4 separate regions of the Homo sapiens genome follow, and regions 1, 2 and 4 are each linked to region 3. The links are contacts of gene promoters, found by promoter capture Hi-C in blood cells and fetal thymus (Javierre and others, 2016). All regions are on one chromosome and are shown on one strand. The core of a region is centred on a gene start or on the middle of the fragment in contact, and the rest is flanking DNA. Distances in the headings are between cores, read along the strand shown.

Region 1 (3,909 bases), core at 132-2,631, 190 kb before region 3:
CCCCTCCAGACTTTGGGTGATGAGGATCATGGGAGGGAAGCCGAGGGGGACTGCACGTAGCTCAACACTGGCCTGCAGGCACCTCTTGGCACAAACATCCTGGGTGCCAATGAATGGCCGTGAGAGGCAGACAGGCTCCTGGGAGGAAGGGGGTGGGTCCCCAGTGAAGCTCCACTTTCAGGCCAGGGAAGGTCCTACCAGTCCTGCCCACCAGAGGGGGAACTTGTGGTGCTTTTTCCTGAGCCCACCTATTGCTGCCCATGGACCAATCAGCATATACTTTCCCCACTCTGAATGAAAACCATAAAAACCCCAGACTCAGCCAGAGCAGGGCAGACATCAGGATGGCCAGCTGCATAGAGGAACTACCATCTCCGCTGAGAGATGAACATTTTTGGGGATGACCTGTCAGCAGAGAGGAGCCATCCACTCCAGGCCTCCTCTCTGCTGAGAGCTGCACACTCGATGGGACGACCTGCCCACAGAGAGGACCTGCTCACCGCGGGTCTCCTCTGAGCTGTTCTGACCCTCAGTAAAGTTCTTCTTCGTCTTGCTCACCCTCCACTTGTCTGCATACATCACTCTTCCTGGACATAGGACAAGAACTTGGGCAAAGGCACCACCACCCACAGAGGTTTCCAGCCAGAAAAGCAGCACCTCAAATATCCCAAGAAAAGAAATAGCAAAGGGCTAAAGTCAAAAGATTTGTTTCAAGCCCAGCTAAGATAATCATTAGCTGTATTAGATTTTTGTCTAACCAACTAGCAAGTAGAGAAGTCCAGACCTTCCTAAACAAACAAAGGAAGTTTTGATCAACTGAGCTTGAAAGTCCGGGGGCTGCTCTGGCTTCAAGGATTTCTATGTCTTCTCCTCAGCCAAAATAGGAATCTCTCCCTCTCTCTCCCTTTGATTCTCCACTCTGCTTTCTCCTATGTAGCATTCACTCTAGGAGCTCTCTCAATGTGATAGGAAAATAGCTCCAGGGTTTCATGATCCTTACATCTCCCAAGTGAAGTCAGTGCGCTCCTAGCATTCATTTATTTCAATCCCTTAAAAAAAAAAAAAAAAAAACTCAAAGCCAGGCACAGTGGCTCACACTTGTAATCCCAGCACTTTGGGAGGCTGAAGCAGGTGGCTCACTTGAGGTCAGGAGTTCAAGACCAGCCTGGCCAACATGGTGAAACCCCGTCTTTACAAAAAATACAAAAATTAGCCAGGTGTGGTGACGCATGCCTGTAATCCCAGCTACTCGGGAGGCTGAGGTAGGAGAATTGCTTGAACCCAGGAGGCAGAGGTTGCAGTGAGCCAAGATTGCACCACTGCACTCCAGCCTGGGCAACAGAGCAAGACTCCATCTCAAAAAAAAAAAAAACACTCAAATACTTGGATTACATGCCCACCCGTATACCAATCTCTGCATCTAGGGGAATATAGTGGACCCTGATGGGTCAGTGTGGGTCACACATAACAGACAGAGGCAGAGCCCCTTGACTGACAGACCTGCTAGGAGTTATAGAAAGGCACTGGGTAGTTCCTTAAAGGAAAAATCAGAGTCCTATTACCAAAAAGAGGAAGGAAATTGGCCCAACCAAAACAACAGATGTCAACTATATCAGTTATGAGATTTTAGTCAAGTCACTTACTCTCTGAACCTGTGTTTTTTTCATCAGTAAAAGAGGCATGATAATGATAATACCAGACCCATTACTCGGTGTAGTTCTTGTAAGAATCAAGCACGCATTATATGAACAGGATTTGTAAACTGCTGCAAGACACTATTGTAAATAATAGCACCCACTAAACGAGCATTTATTATGGCTAGAAGAAATAGTATTATTTCTGTTATTAGTGCCTTGGATACATATATTCACTAACCTTAATGTGATCTCTTAAATAGACTTTAGGTTTCCTAAGTAACCATTCAACCTTAATTTGGCTTCTTATGTAGACTTCTCTGTTGAAATAAGAGGGACTAAATGACTTAAATGAATATCGGAGGGCTTGGCAATTCTATGTTTTATTAAAATTCATTTCTTTTATACAAATCAACTTCATACAATAGGCAGTTTTTTAGTGGTTAATATCAACTGGTTAAGCTGGCAACTGAAGTTGCAAACCTGCAAAATTAGAAGATCAAGCTGTGAGGGATAGAGAACATCACCAATACCAGTGTTCTGCTTCTATTGGCAGGTGGGGAATCTTTTTTATTTTTTATTTAGTATTATCAAATCTGACAGTAAATGAATATCCGTAATATTGAGTGTTAATCATTTGAAATAGTATCAGTGTTTTTGAACTATTAGTAAAACTAGTCACAAATGATGATTCATTCAAATAACTTTAAATATTATTCAAAAGACAGCGATTCTTCTTCCACTTTGGGGTTTTCACAAAATTCATTTGTTAATCTTACATGTAGATATCAAAGTAGCCATCAGTCATTATTACTTTATTCTCTATGTTATGGAAAAAGTGTGATTTTAATGACCATAGGCATCATATATTATTCCAGGACTCAGCTTTCCTTTTAGGATAGATTTATTTAAATTAGCTAGGAGATAGATCATGCTTCATTTAAAATTGCTAAAATAAGTACTTGCATTAGCTATGCAAAATAGTCCTTTTTTTACTTAAAATGTTCTCTTCAAAGTGTTTCAGTTGCTAAATGTGAATTATTTCCAAAGATTCTCCAGACCAAAAGGTGAGATGATATTTTAAAAATTCAATTTCCTTATAATGTAATGAGGTCAATAATACAAAGAGTTCAGAGTCTCTGATTCCTTTTTCAGTTTAAAAATGCCAGTGGATCAAGTAATTTCTAAATTATTGCCCTAGTCTTTGGACTTCCTATAAATTTCTTGTCAACATTTTTTGAATTTACTTAGGAAAGTGCTGTCTTTAAAATTAATTATTCACTTACCTTCATTTTAAAGTATTTTTTCAAAACTGCTTATTTGATGTAGTAGATGAAAGGGTATATTTAAAGGCATTAATTTTTATTAACAGCTAAATATCTCAAGATGTCATTTTTCCCTCTAAGTTTTCAGAAAAGTCTCTATTATGTGCTCCCAGAGAGAAAAATAGACTTTAAATTAATTTACTTAATAAAGAGATAAATATAGTCTGTCTGTATCTCATCATAAACTTAGGAGAACTAATCCCTGAATGCCAATGACTACTGCAGGATTTTATCAGTCCTGGTTTTCCTCAGTCCCACCGTCACCTTCCCTGCTCTGCCCCATACCACAGGGGCTGGCTTTCCTGGTCCCTGTGCCAGCTTGCTTCCAGCTGAGTTTGGCCAATGGGAGGCACTAGTAGAGGTTACAGGCTGGGAGATTGGAAGGGGGTGGTAAAGAAGAAATCAAGGTATTTCTCCTTCCTTTTTGCCTCAGAAGGCAACTGGAGCAATGACTGGCTCTCCCATCTGGCCCCAGCTCCCAGTTGGAGAGTCCTGCTGTGAGTCCAACTTTGTCAGATATATCAGGCAGGGTCCAATGAGGAGAAAGAATGCACACAGTAATTTAAACAGGGAAAATTTAATATAGAAATTTAGGCCAGGCACAGTGGCTCACACCTGTAATACCAGCACTTTGAAAGGCCAAGGAGGGAGGATTGCTTGGACCCAGGAGTTCAAGACCAGCCTGGGCAACATAGCAAGGTCCCAACTCAAAAAATAAAATATAATTAAGTTAAATTAAATTTTAAAATATAGAAAGTTATTCACTATTAGAGAGATATTGGAGCAATGCAGTAAGAAAGATAATTCTAAAGAATACAAGAATAGCAGATATAAGGAGCAGTCACAACGTTGGGACTGAGATAAAGCATCCAAGTAAGATCTCTGCAACCTCACCAAGACAAAAATCCAGATCTTGTTGGAGATGGAATAGTGTTGGTTCACTAGATAGT
Region 2 (4,245 bases), core at 1,527-4,026, 170 kb after region 3:
TGGAGTGCAGTGGAGCAATCTCGGCTCACTACAACCTCCGCCTCTCAGCCTTAAGTGATTCTCCTGCCTCAGCCTCCCAAGTAGAATATCCTTTCCCTTTCTTTTCCAGGAAAAGTACTATGCATGCCTTGGAACTCAGATCAAATGTTGTATCCTGGTAGAATCAACGATCTAAGCTCCAACACACTTTGTATATATGTCTGGCATAGTTCTAATTAGTTCTTCACTCATCTGATTAACCCCGAACTAAAATGATCTCAGAGTAAGAATGGGTCTTATTTAATTCATATCTCCAAGGCCTAGCACAGATCATACTAGGCACTACTGGTTATTGGGCAGGAGGATAGGTGTCAGCATGGACCATTGCCCAACAGAACAGGAACACATCTCCCTCTGAGCATGCCTCCTCAGACCCCCTACTCACCCAGGACCATTTCTGCTCAGCCTGATGCTTTGGCTCTCTGAACTCTGTAGTGAGCTTTGTATTTGCAGATTTTTCTGACCAGTAACTCAAAACTAATTTTGGAGACCAACATTGCCAATTTAAAACGTTTCCAAGAAAAGATGTTTTTTAAAACCTATCACTGGCTGGGTACAGTGGCTCATGCCTGTAATCTCAACACTTTGGGAGGCCGAGGCAGGTGGATTACCTGAGGTCAGGAGTTCAAGACTAACCTGGCCAACAAGGTGAAACCCCGTCCCTACTAAAAATACAAAAATGAGCTGGGTGTGGCGGCACATGCCTGTAATCCCAGCTACTCAGGAGGCTGAGGCAGGAGAATCGCTTGAACCTGGGAGGCAGAGGTTGCAGTGAGCCAAGAGCAAGACTCCGTCTAAAAAACAAACAAACAAAAACAAAAACAAACAAAAAAACACCTATCACCTACTTTCTCCATAGTTTTATAAAAGTCACTTTAATACCTCAAAAATAAAAAGGTCATTGTCTCAGCCTAGAGGACAGTCCTTTGGATTAAATGCATTTAGCATTTTAAAAGCTTACCACATTGACCTCATTTTTTCATTCAGTGGTGAAAAGTTTGTCCTAGTTTATCAGTTCTAAAAAGTTTGGAAACCACTGATTTAGACCTTTGCTTCTGCAAGGCAGCTCCTGCATTCTTCCTGACTCAGGAATTAGTTTCAGGTCTCATGCCAGGAATAAAGTCCTGCACCATCTTTCCCTACAGTTTCTTTTTGTGGATATGGAGAGAAGTACCTAGAAACAAGAGACCGACTACAGCATATTGAACAGTCTATGCTGGTCACTTGACTTTGGATGAGGGGCAAATCTCAGTTGACAAACTCAGCTCAAAAATAAACTACTCTAGGCAAGAAGTATCTTATACAGCTTTGCAGCCCCCAATGACTTAAGAACTAAGAGATGCTAGTTTATGGGAAGAATGAAGAATGAATGAATGAATGAATGAGTGGATGGATGGATGGATGGATGGATGGATGGATGGATGGATGAATGGATAGATAAGTAGATGGATGAAATCTGAGTCCTCATTACCCAGAGAATCCCTGTGGAACAGGCTCAGTTAAGTCAGAAGTGGTATGTTGCAAATTAAATGAGTCTTTTCCAGCCTCAGCTTTTCACTACTACTTCCTGGGGCACAGCGCCTTCTAGTGGAAATCCAGATGTGCTGCCTCCTCCCTAGACGGCCCTAAACATGGGCCCTTTGATGACTCCCTCCCAGATCACCATCTCCTCACTGTGAAAACCTCAATGACATCCCCATTGATGAGGCTCAGTAGATTCAGGCAGGTCCCTTCTAGTAACCCAAGTACTCACAAGATGAACAATGAAGGATTCCATTAGAGCTTTAGGCTAGAGCAGCACTTCTCAAACTTTCCTGTGCAGATGAATCACTTGGAGAGGACCTTGTGGAAAACCGAAGATTTTCACTGGGTAATTCTGAGTTGTGGATCAAGATTCTGAATTTTGGACAAGCCTTCCAGGACCAGAGCCTGCTGGTCCAGTGGCAGCTGCTCAACACTGCGCCCCTGTGGGGGTTGGCAGCTCCCAGATATACGAGGTATAACCAGGGAGTATAACCAGGAAGCTGTGGGGTTGATGGTTTAAGCAGACAATCTGAAGCTTATAAATTACTGTTGTCCCTTTCAAGGTTTGCCCTTTGAAGTCTACACACTCCTACCAAAAAAAAAAAATTGTTTTTCTTTTGCTGGAATGTTATTTATAAAACATTTCTGGCATTGTCATTGAAATTTTTGTGCCTTAAAAGACTCAGTGGTGACATTTTTCTCTTTGAAGGTAGCTTTAAAAGCAGTCAAAAGTTATTTCAAAATAGAATGTGATTATAAATATTGAGGTGGATGTACTCATATGGCTTATAAATTAGCCCTGAAAATAATCTCCAAATAAGAATTCCAAAAATATTTTGGGCAGCTGTTTGGAGAAAGTGGAATGCCTGATTTGAAACACAATACTCATTTGGATGTTTATGTTCCAGGGTGTTCATTTTTAAGGAGTTGATTTCATTATGTTATATTCCCATCTACTATATTATTTAAGTAAAACTTCAGTAGGGCTTTGTAAGTGCCAGGCACTATTGCTTTACAAATATTCATTCATTTAATCTTCATAACAATCCTTTTACAGATGAGAAGTCATTCTACAATCATTTTACAGGTGAGAAAACTGAGGCATGGAGACATGTTGCTTCCCCAGGGTCACCTAGTTAGTAAATGGATGAGTTGAGATTCAAATCTTAAACAGCCTACTTTCAGGTGTCAGAGGCTTCATTACTAAGCTATGCTAGCTCCCCCAACAGAGACGAGGTCTCATTATACTGTCTAGTCTGGTCTTGAACTCCTGGGCTCAAGCAATCCTCCCACCTTAGTCTCCCAAAGTGCTGGGATTACAGGCGTGAGCCACCATCCCCAACTTATGCTACCCCTTAATTAGAGTTAGGACTAGTCTAGTACTATCAACTACTGTACCTCAGGGTCTATCAGATGGAAGGGAAAAAAATTCAAAGTGACTTAGAGGTTGGAAACCTGCAGAAATTAACAAATCCAACCAAGATGGGAACAACTGGAGCTGGAATGTGTGAACAGGGTGCTCTTAAGTATAAGCACCCTACCTCTTTCCTGGCACTGAGACCTAGAGAAGAGTTCCAACCTCAAGCTGGAAGTGATAGGAGGAAATATTACATTCCCAGAATCAGAAATCATAAAACAATTTTAAAAGCAAGGGACCAACAGGAAGGGGGTGCTGACTGATTGCTCAGAGAGGGTGTCCCAGGGCAGCGGGGTCTTGATGAGGTCATTCCAGGCCAGGGTCTCCAGGAGCAGGGCTTTGCCAGCCCTGACATTCCATTTTGTCAGTGTACCTAGAGATAAGTAGGCACAAGGGAAATGAATTATGCTAACCAGACTCTTATGAGTCTAAACCAAAACACCCACAGTTAGGAGAACAGTGCCAATAAGCTTGTTCAAAGCATGCTTTTTCCTGTAGGGAAGTCTAATGGGCAAATCATTATCAAAGTCTGTTTTGTAAGGAAAATTGACTGAGTGACCTCAGAAGAGGATGTTATGAAATGTTGAGAGCTGGATGCGCCCATCTCATGGACTACCGTGTAGCTGCCAAAAAGGCAGCCCTCCCCTCGTGTCACTCTTCCTGCAACTAGGTCACAATACAACACTTTCAGTTCAGCTTTCTTTAGCATTCCTGACCTCAGACATGGATGGCTAGTGGGTTATCTCAGATGGTGAATGTTTGTGATTTTTGTTTTATTGGTTGACGCTTTTTTTTTTTTTTGAGACAGGGTCTTGTTCTGTTGCCCAGGCTGGAGTTCAGTGGCATGATCACGGCTCACTGCAATCTCCCCCTCCCAGGCTCAAGCAATTCTCCCACTTCAGCCTCCTGAATAGCTGGGACTACAGGTACACACCGCCACACCTGGCTAATTTTTGTATTTTTTATAGAGAGAGCTTCTCACCATGTTGTCTAGGCTGGTCTCAAACCCCGGAGCTCAAGCAATCCTCCCACCTCAGCCTCCCAAAATGCTGGGATTACAGGCATGAACCACCATGCCCAGCCTCTTGGTTGACACTTTTTCCTTGTAGTACTCTTAGAGAGTGGCTACTCCTAACTTTCTCCTCAGGGTGTGGGAGCAGCTCATTGCCTACTGAAGCACCTGCAGCAGGGCAGTGGGGGCTGGTCTTCAGGGGAAAAGCCAGAGCCTTTCCTGGCATCCCACCCTGACACCTTATTCCAGCCCA
Region 3 (4,546 bases), core at 17-2,516:
CATCATGTTGACCAGGATAGTCTCAAACTCCTGACCTCAGGCAATCCGCCTGCCTCGGCCTTCCCAATTGCTGGGATTACAGGCGTGAGCCACTGCACCCGGCCTCATACAGCTCTAATGCCACGCATCAAGTTCTGCATGTACAATCTCTCATTTTGGCCTCTCAGCAACCCCCCATGTGCTAGGGACAGTAAATTCTATTGTTCTCACTTTGCAGATAAGAAGACTGCAATTCAGGAAGACATATAGTAGTCTATAAGTGATTCAGGACTGGAACTCAGTTATCCTAATTCCCTCTCGGAGGCTCTTTCCACCATGCCATCTGCTCGTCTGGTGCTTTCCATCCATGAACTCTGGAAAACAAGCTTGAGATACCAAAATTGAAAAGACAGCTCATCAAAAATGAATAGTTATAATTCTATAAGTACAAAAATGAAATACTCAAATCTCTTGCCCCCCCTCCTGCTAGGAGCATAAATGTTAACCTGAGTTCTCTAGCTCTGTACAAATCCACAGCAATTAAGACTGCACTGTGAGGGAAAATACTTTTCTAAAAAAGAATCCTGATCAAGTTGAAACAAAAATTTTAAAACATGAAATGGAAGGAACGAAACTGTCGTCCTCCCTTATTTCTGACCCACACTTGTCGATTTTCATGACGGAGTTTCTCAAGCCAGGGGCATATGGCCAAAGACCATGTGAAATGCCAGGTGTTCCAAATAACAACCGACGGGGTACTGGAAGGAAAGCACTGCCTCCCCGGGGAACAAATGGCCCAATTTCCAGACTTAGTTTTCTGCAGTCTCAAACCCGATGTTGCACCAAGAAACCACCTAATCTTTAGGTGGTTTCGTTTACCGAAAAATGAGGTGACTGGTTCAGTGCGCATATGTGAATTTAAGGGTAACACTGTACTCACGCTTTGCATATTTAAATTCTCAAATATTCACTTAATATATGCATAGACCATTGTCACTTCGTCAGAAGTCGCGTCCTGCCCAGTTGCGCGAGACTCCAACGGGCCTTCTTGCGACGCTCGGGTCTGGGTCCGGGTCCGGACGTGCAACAGAAGCCGTCAGTGGCCCCGCTGGCTAAAAAAGGGCAAGCATCGGAGGCTCGAGCCAGCGGCCGCGGCGCTTCCCGACAGTTCCTAATTCGGGGCGCTACGCCGGCCCCACCACCTGTTCCCGGCAGCCAATGGGGCCGCGGGGGGCGGCCGGGGCGGAGCGCGGCTACAAAAGGCCTCGGGCCCCGCGCGCCCGCCCACCCCGCTCCGGGCGCGCTCTCGGGAAGGCTTGGACCGACGCGGCCCAGAGGCCAGGAACATTCCGCGCGTGGACCAGCCGGGCCAGGGCGATGCTGCGGGTGCGGTGTCTGCGCGGCGGGAGCCGCGGCGCCGAGGCGGTGCACTACATCGGATCTCGGGTGCGTGCGCCACCGGCCTCGTCTGGCGGCCGCGTGACTCACTCGATCCTGCGGGCGGCGTGGAGCACTCGCTCGCTCCCTGCCCGGAGCCGCCACCTTCCCTCGCTTTCCCTAGCCGGAATTGCACGAGAGTGTCCCTTCTGGTATCCCTGGGAAGCTCAGCTTCAAGAGCCTTCGCAGGCTCCAGGAGCTGGGCGGCGTCCCCCAGTCAGGGGGAACTTGCGTTGCGGCTCCAGCCCTTGGGGTCCACTTGCTGTCTGCGCGTCCGCGGCCTGCTGGCCCACGGCGCAGGGGGCGCCGCCCCCCTCTACCGGACCTTGGTGCGCTGCACCAAGCTTCCCGCTCGGAGCAAGGGGTTGGGACGACGGAGGCTCCTCTTAGTAAAAGGGTGGCGTTATTGGGGTTCAGTAGCCTGAGTGGGCGTCGAGTTGGGGAGATTTCTGGAAAATGCGTGTGGGGTAGATGGATGGGGAGAAGAGGCAAGCAAAGTGGGAATCGGGGACGGGGAGCGAGCGACCAGATTCACTCCAAGTATAACATGGGATCCCACGTCTGGAGAGGAGTCGGGGCGAGTGCAGCCTGTAAGCAGAGTTTCTGCGCTCCCCGCCCTCGGCTGCCCTGGCAGCAGACCCTCCCATGCTTCTAGTACTGGAATCGCTCCGACATTCTGGCTTCCTCCCAGCAACTGGTTCCTGAACAGCTGTCATTCTCCGTCTTTCTTCTGCCTCCACCCGAGTTCTCCTCCTGCCCACTTCCTAAGGCTTTTAACAGAGCAGGATAGAGATTTGGGGGGTTGAGGTTTGCTCAGGGGTTGAGGGACCCTCCCTGCTCTAGATTTTATAGGCCATGCATTTTTAAAAGGCTTTTGAAGTTTTTAGATCTCCTTCTTATTTGTTTGAATTTACGCCTGAGCTAATCCTGACCTTGGCTAGGGTACTGTGGACCATCTGTAAAATGGAGCAGATGGCAGTTGCTCACTCTCAGAATTGAAGTGCCAAAGAATGCGAAGTGTATGTCAAAGATGAAAAAAATTTGATTTGAAGCTGGTTATTCTGAAAGATAAGGTCCTTTACAAATGTTCCCAACTTTTCATTTGTAAAAAAAAATAAATAAAAAGCCTAATATTGGTAACCTTTGATACTTAAGGGAAAAGGAGGTTCCGTCCCCAGCTGAGACTGGCGGGAAGTTTTAGAGCAGCTGTCTATGGTTTTCTGAGAGGAGGACTGACCCATCTGCAAAACAGTTGCTTAAAGCTTGAGTGCAGGAATTGCATTCTGAGATAAAGATGGGGGTGTATGGTAGCTGGGGACACGGTCTTCTGAGGAGTTTTAAAGAGTTACAGCAATTAATAGATAAGAAGACAATTTGTAGATAAACAAGAGGGTTAAAAAAATTATCTGTAATCCCACTACCCACCTACACACTGTTAACGTCTTGGTTTATGCTGTTCTAAAGGGGTTTAAGTGGCAATGTTATGCTGGATTTTTACTCCATCTCCACTTCCTCCTCTCTGTAAGTACTGATAGAGCAATGCAATACAATAATCTTTTCTTTGTTCTTGGAAGCTTGGACGAACCTTGACAGGATGGGTGCAGCGAACTTTCCAGAGCACCCAGGCAGCTACGGCTTCCTCCCGGAACTCCTGTGCAGCTGACGACAAAGCCACTGAGCCTCTGCCCAAGGACTGCCCTGTCTCTTCTTACAACGAATGGGACCCCTTAGAGGAAGTGATAGTGGGCAGAGCAGAAAACGCCTGTGTTCCACCGTTCACCATCGAGGTGAAGGTAAAGGAAGGCTATTCACATGTCTGAAAGTGCGCTCCCTCCTCACCTGCTGCTGCTACCCTCTGACTGCTTTCCCTTCAGCTTACTCCCAGACCTCTCAATCCAGTGATTAAGTTATCTTACTTGACACCTCTGTGGTATTTGACACTATTTACACCAATGATAATTGCTTCCTTCCTGAAGAGCTTCCTGAAGCTCTTCCCTTGGATTCTGAGAGAGCTTTTCTGGGAATAATAGTTCTTTCACTGTCCTCAGATCTTCTTCCGTCACAGCCTGTAATGGCAAGGTTGAACAGAATATTACTTTCAGCCCCCTTCTCTTAGCCATTCTCACAGCTACCGCTCCCACCTCCTCTCTGGTCCGGATCTCTGTATTGAACTCCTTCCAGATCAACGAGTTAAACTCCTTACGGGATATTGCCACAGGACTTCAAACTTGGCACATCTGGAGTTCAGTTGCCAGCCACCTGCTCAAGTGGATCCCTCCTCATTCCTGCCTTTTAATTATTGGCATTCCTATTTAATCAAGCTAAAACACAAAAGAATCATCTTTGATTTCTCCTTATGTCACGTGATGTAACAAGGCTTTTGTCAAAAATGAATCTTGCCTCATTCCTCTGCTTTGCCTCTCCCTAAAGGTTGGGAGCTCATCTGCTGCCTGGACTATTGCAGTTAACTCCTAACTGGTCACTCCTACTCACTCTTCTCACCAAATCACCTGGCAGCTGCAATCCAAGTGATTTTTTAAAACTCAGATGTGATCATGTTACTCATCCTGCTTCTTTTCCTCCTGTACTTTGCTAGGCGACCCCCACTACCCCACCACCCCCCGCATTGTTTAGGATAAAGTCTTCATGGTATTCAAGATCCTTCACAATCTGACTCTTGTCTGCATTTCCAGGATTCCCCATTCCAGTTATTGACTCATCTGTTAGTACAGCAGATTAGCAGGTGTTCATTTCTGGTCAAGTCCCTCTATCCTCTAATATTCCACCCTGGTTTTCAGCAGACTTTATAAGACAACCATATAAGGCAGCTAAGCTAGACTACTCACTGTTTCTTCACAAGCCCTGCATCTTTGCCCCTACCTAAGTCTCTTCCATCCATCTTCCTGTGCCCTTTAGTCTGTAGTTTAAACCTACCACCACCTAGCTTCAATGACACCTTTCACAAAGTCTTCCAGGATTTCCCTGGCAACAAGTAATATCTCTCTTTTTAAAAACTCCTAGTGGTGGCCAGGCGCGGTGGCTCACACCTGTAATCCCAACACTTTGGGAGGCTGAGGCGGGTGGATCACGAGGTCAGGAGATCGAGACCATCCTGGCTAACACGGTGAAA
Region 4 (4,511 bases), core at 1,311-3,810, 220 kb after region 3:
TCAGTAGAAACACCACCTCCTCAGGCCTCCCCTCAGTCCTCTCTACCACATCTGCCTGTTAACTCTCTTAGTGCATGCGTTGTCATCCACAGTACTTTTGTTTTTTGGGGGTTGGGGGGACAGAGTCTCATTCTGTCACCCAGGCTGGAGTGCAATGGCATGATCTTAGCTCACTGCAACCTCCGCCTCCCAGGTTCAAGAGATTCTCCTGCCTCAGCCTCCCGAGTAGCTGGGATTACAGGCACCTGCCACCAAACCCAGATAATTTTTGTATTTTTAGTAGAGATGGGGTTTCACCATGTTGGCCAGGCTGGTCTCGAACTGACCTCGAATGATTTGCCCACCTCGGCCTCCCAAAGTGCTGAGATTACAGGTGTGAGCCACCGCGCGCGGCCAACAGTACTTTTGCTTCCTCATTCATTTACATGTTTACTGTCGTTTTCCCCACTGGACTGAAGGGGTAGGGACTGTTTGCCATTATAAGCTCCTAGCAGTTTCTGCCTGGCATATGATAGGCACACAGTAACTGTTGGGGAAAGGCGCTTCCCCAGTTTATCCTCTCCTTTTCCAGGCTAAGAATACCTAACTAGTCTCCCTTTTCCATGTAATAACTGACAAGTATCATCCAGCTCTGGTCCTTTCCCTAATAAGTTTGTCTAACATGGTCAGACACTACTTGGTCACATTCTTCCCACTTGCTTGCTCCTGAGTCTGGCTCAGTTTGACTTCTGCGTCCACCTCTCCTTAGGACCTTCCCACTGAGGGCCCAGCAGCCCCACAAATGGGTAAAATATATCTTTTCAGGCCATGTTGGCTCCTACTCTTAGAAGCCTGAGGCACTAGTGACCACCTCCTTCTCGCCACTTCTGCAACAATGCTCTACTGGTTCTCCCACTTTGGGCCACTCGCTTTCCATCTCCTCCACTGGCTTAATTCCTTCTGCCACCCCCAGTCATGGGTGTTGCCCAAGCCTGGTTTTGTCACCCTCTGCTCATCTCTTTCTATGCTCCGCCATGTGGCATGGCCTCTCAGCTGAGCCACAGCCCCTCAGTTTCAACTGCAGCTGCCACATGATCACCAGCAGCATGTCCTGCCACCACCTAATGCCCTATGGCCATCTGCAGCCAGCCCTGTCCCCTCTGCCTCCTGAATATCCTATCACCATTCCCACCTCTGCCTGTGCTCATGCCCTTCCTTTTACCTGGATTGCTCTTCAGTTTCCACTCTGCCCTGTCAAAGCTTAGCTTACCTCCCCCAGACCCTTGGCCCAAGTCCAGTCTTCTCCTCAAAGTCTTCCCTAGCCAATTTAGCCCAAGTGAAACTCCCTTCAGTGAACTCCTATAACTTACTGTTTGGAACACTCCGCTCAGCAATTAATCCTATATCAAGTGTTCATTTTGATCATTTCATGCATGTGCCACTTTTTGTCACAGCGAATCCTAAGTTCCTAAGGAAGAGATTAGAGTCTCCCCTTCTGCTGCTGGGCCCTACAGAGAGCTAGTACATAAAAGACCCTCCACAGATACACAGATAGCTGCTTTTTTTTTTTTTTTTTTTTTTTTTTTTTGAGATGGAAGTCTCGCTGTCACCCAGGCTGGAGTGCAGTGGTGTGATCTTGGCTCAATGCAACCTCCACCTCCCTGGTTCAAAAAATTCCCCTGCCTCAGCCTCCCGAGTAGCTGGGATTAGAGGCGCATGCCACCACTCCCGGCTAATTTTTTTGTAGAGACGGGGTTTCACCATGTTGGCCAGACTGGTCTCCAACTCCTGATCTCAGGTAATCCACCCGCCTCAGCCTCCCAAAATGCTGGGATTACAGGTGCGAGCCACTGCACTCGGCCAACAGATAGCTTTTAAACTGAACTCTGGTTCCCCATTCAGGCGTTCCCTTCCCCCAGCTAAGTCTTCCTAGATTCTTGAACCTTTCCCTACAAGACTAACTTAAACCTCTCTGAGCTCTTCTTTGAACTGGCTCTTTCTTCCCCAAGTTCACTGTTTCATTGTGGAGCCCACACCCACCCCTAAGGCTTTCTGAGCATCCAAACAGGCTGAGTACAATGGCAGGGTGACGTCATGCTGCTCTGTTTCTACACCCTATTTTGTGCTGGCTTTCCTTTTAAACCACAAGGCTGCTGCAGATTCCTTGTTGGCTGGTGGGATGGGGTGGTGGCTCAGCCAGCTCAGCCTCTGATGTGCTAGCCCTGCCCTCTTCTGCCTGGATCAGAAGCCTGGCCATCCTTCCCCAGGGTCTAGTCTATACTGGGGTCCTTTACTTGTAATTTATCTTTCTGCTTGAAGTCAAGTGGTCACGCCTGGGACAAGTGGGAACAAAGAGGGTGCTCTTGCCCTGATCTCCCTGAGATGAGATTGTCCCAAACTGCTGGTGAGGATAGCCTAGCATAGAGGCCTCCACCTTTCTTTTTTCCTTTTTTATTTCTTTTTTTTTTTTTAAACAGGCTGTCCATCTGTTGCCCAGGGTAGAGTGTAATGGCATGATCTCGGCTCACTGCAACCTTCACCTCCTGGGTTCAAGCGATTCTCATGCCTCAGCCTCCTGAGTAGCTAGGACTATAGGTGTGCGTCACCACACTCAGCTAATTTTTGTATTTTTAGTAGAGACGAGGTTTCGCCATGTTGACCAGGCTGGTCTTGAGCTCCTGGCCTCAGGTGATCCACCCACCTCGGCATCTCAAAGTGCTGGATTACAGATGTGAGCCACTGTGCCCGGCCACACCTTTCGAACCCCTGACTTTCCTGCTGGCAGGAAGGGTGGCTTGGAATCCTAGTGATGCCTACACCCCAGGACAAATCAGAAAGGGCTCTGGGTCTTAGGGAGCCTGCCTGGCCACTCTTCTGGATCTCTCATCTAGTTCAAAGTAGCTGCTTTATCACCAGGAACAAGAACGTCATTTCCACCCCCAACAGAAGCAGTAGCCGAGAATGCTAGGGCTCCACTCATTATTGGGAAGAGGAGGAGAGAGGGTAAATTAGTCATAGCTTCCAAAGAAAGAGATGTTTCTTAGGAAACGCATATCATCAGTTCTAGGAAACATCCTAAGCCAAGGCTAAGTAGTCATCTTCAGAACTGTGAAATGCTGAGCAACAGGCAAGATGAAACAGACCCTCCTATCTGTCAGTGAGGACAGAACTGCACCTGAGAGAAGGCAGGTCAGATGGCAGGAGCCAACCTGACCGAGGCCATGGTGCAGTTTCTCTTTGTCTCGGCACAAAGGAGAGCCCTGTATGCAGTTCTGCTGCAGGGAACAGCTGGAGCCTTGGGATTTGGTTTAGCTTCTAAGTGAGGCCCTCAGAGTACCCTTTAGGGAATTGCCTCTGCTCATGAGGAAGGCAGACAAGCAGAGCCACAACACAGGGACACAGAATCAGCTCGGGAACTAACCAGCTAGGCAGCCGATGAGAAACCCAGGGGAGGGTGAAGGGAACATGAGAAGGGAGGCAACATGGAGAGAGGGAGGCAGGAGCCAAGGTTAAGGAGAAGGAAAGGGGATAGGTAGAGTCTTAAAAATCTATTTGATTGGCCTGGCGCGGTGGCTCACGCCTGTAATCCCAGCACTTTGGGAGGCCGAGGTGGGTGGATCACGAGGTCAGGAATTCGAGACCAGCCTGGCCAACATGGTGAAACCCTGTCTCTACTAAAGATACAAAAATTAGCCAGGCATGGTGGTGCGTGCCTGTAGTCCCAGCTACTCAGGAGGCTGAGACAGGAGAATTGCTTGAACCCGGAAGGCGGTGGTTGCTGTGAGTTGAGATCATGCCATTGCACTCCAGCCTGGGCGACAGGGCGAGACTCTGTCTCAAAAAATAAAAAATAAAAATTCATTAGATCAACAATCCAACTGAAGTCATTTTGAACAAGCTTATATACTGTACAGGTGGCACTTAGCAGGTGTGACTAATGCCCCCAAAAATAGGATCAGAACAAAAGTGGCAGAACCCATTTAAGATAAGTTTCTTCAAAAAGGGTGATGCTCTCTTGGGTGCAGGTAGTCCACCCAGGAGCCAAAACCAGCCACCCAAAGTGGGGAAAGACTAGCTGGGCAGAAGTGGGGTGGAGGTGTCTGCGAGGAATGGAGATCAGTCTGGCAGGGCTGCTACTGCAAAACCCATGCCAGGGAGCCGAGCTTCCAAGTGCTGCATATTGGGGTCATCCTAATGGAGAGCCCTGTACTATCATCTCCACCTTCAAAGAGGGACGTCGAGAAGTGAAGAGGATGCTTCAAATAGCTAGAAATTGAATGAATGTCCCAGCTCTCCTTGCCTCCCTGGAAATGTCCTGCCCATACCCTCCTGGCCTGGCTCACAGCCAAAAGCCCTCACCAGGACATAGAGCAGGATGTAGAGGTGGTGGGTCAGCCAGAAGCCCCGGAAACTGCGGCGGCGGAAGTGGTGGGAGGCAAAGACATACATGATGGCCAGGATCAGGAGCAGCACAACCCCCGTGAGGCCTGCAAAATGAATATAGGGTGGAAGGCAGAAGATCAGTGCCTTGA

The links. Contacts are between HindIII fragments. The CHiCAGO score rates a contact against its expected background, and 5 or more counts as called.
Region 1: a contact is called between a fragment that was not itself captured here and the fragment with the promoter of GATM in region 3, in 1 of 17 cell types (monocytes). The highest score is 5.1, in monocytes.
Region 2: a contact is called between a fragment that was not itself captured here and the fragment with the promoter of GATM in region 3, in 10 of 17 cell types (monocytes, naive B cells, M1 macrophages and 7 more). The highest score is 9.8, in monocytes.
Region 4: a fragment that was not itself captured here is called in contact with the fragment with the promoter of GATM in region 3 in 12 of 17 cell types (monocytes, naive B cells, M0 macrophages and 9 more); the score reaches 10.7 in monocytes.

What each region holds. Positions count from the first base shown.
Region 1 is chr15:45,570,496-45,574,404 of GRCh38, reverse strand. No RefSeq gene overlaps it. Among named protein-coding and RNA genes, the nearest start is that of BLOC1S6, 15 kb to the left of the region's middle. The HindIII fragment of the contact is 5,703 bases long and covers 1-3,909 here.
Region 2 is chr15:45,202,706-45,206,950 of GRCh38, reverse strand. No RefSeq gene overlaps it. Among named protein-coding and RNA genes, the nearest start is that of TRH-GTG1-9, 3.7 kb to the right of the region's middle. The HindIII fragment of the contact is 1,352 bases long and covers 2,101-3,452 here.
Region 3 is chr15:45,375,264-45,379,809 of GRCh38, reverse strand. GATM (glycine amidinotransferase) reads left to right here and starts at 1,266. Exons shown (of 9, transcript NM_001482.3): 1 at 1,266-1,425; 2 at 2,991-3,209. The coding sequence starts at 1,357. RefSeq lists an enhancer at 918-997 and a silencer at 1,138-1,467. The HindIII fragment of the contact is 1,395 bases long and covers 368-1,762 here.
Region 4 is chr15:45,155,757-45,160,267 of GRCh38, reverse strand. It overlaps DUOX1 (dual oxidase 1), which reads right to left. Exons shown (of 34, transcript NM_175940.3): 28 at 4,339-4,466. Among named protein-coding and RNA genes, the nearest start is that of DUOX1, 28 kb to the right of the region's middle. The HindIII fragment of the contact is 2,638 bases long and covers 1,242-3,879 here.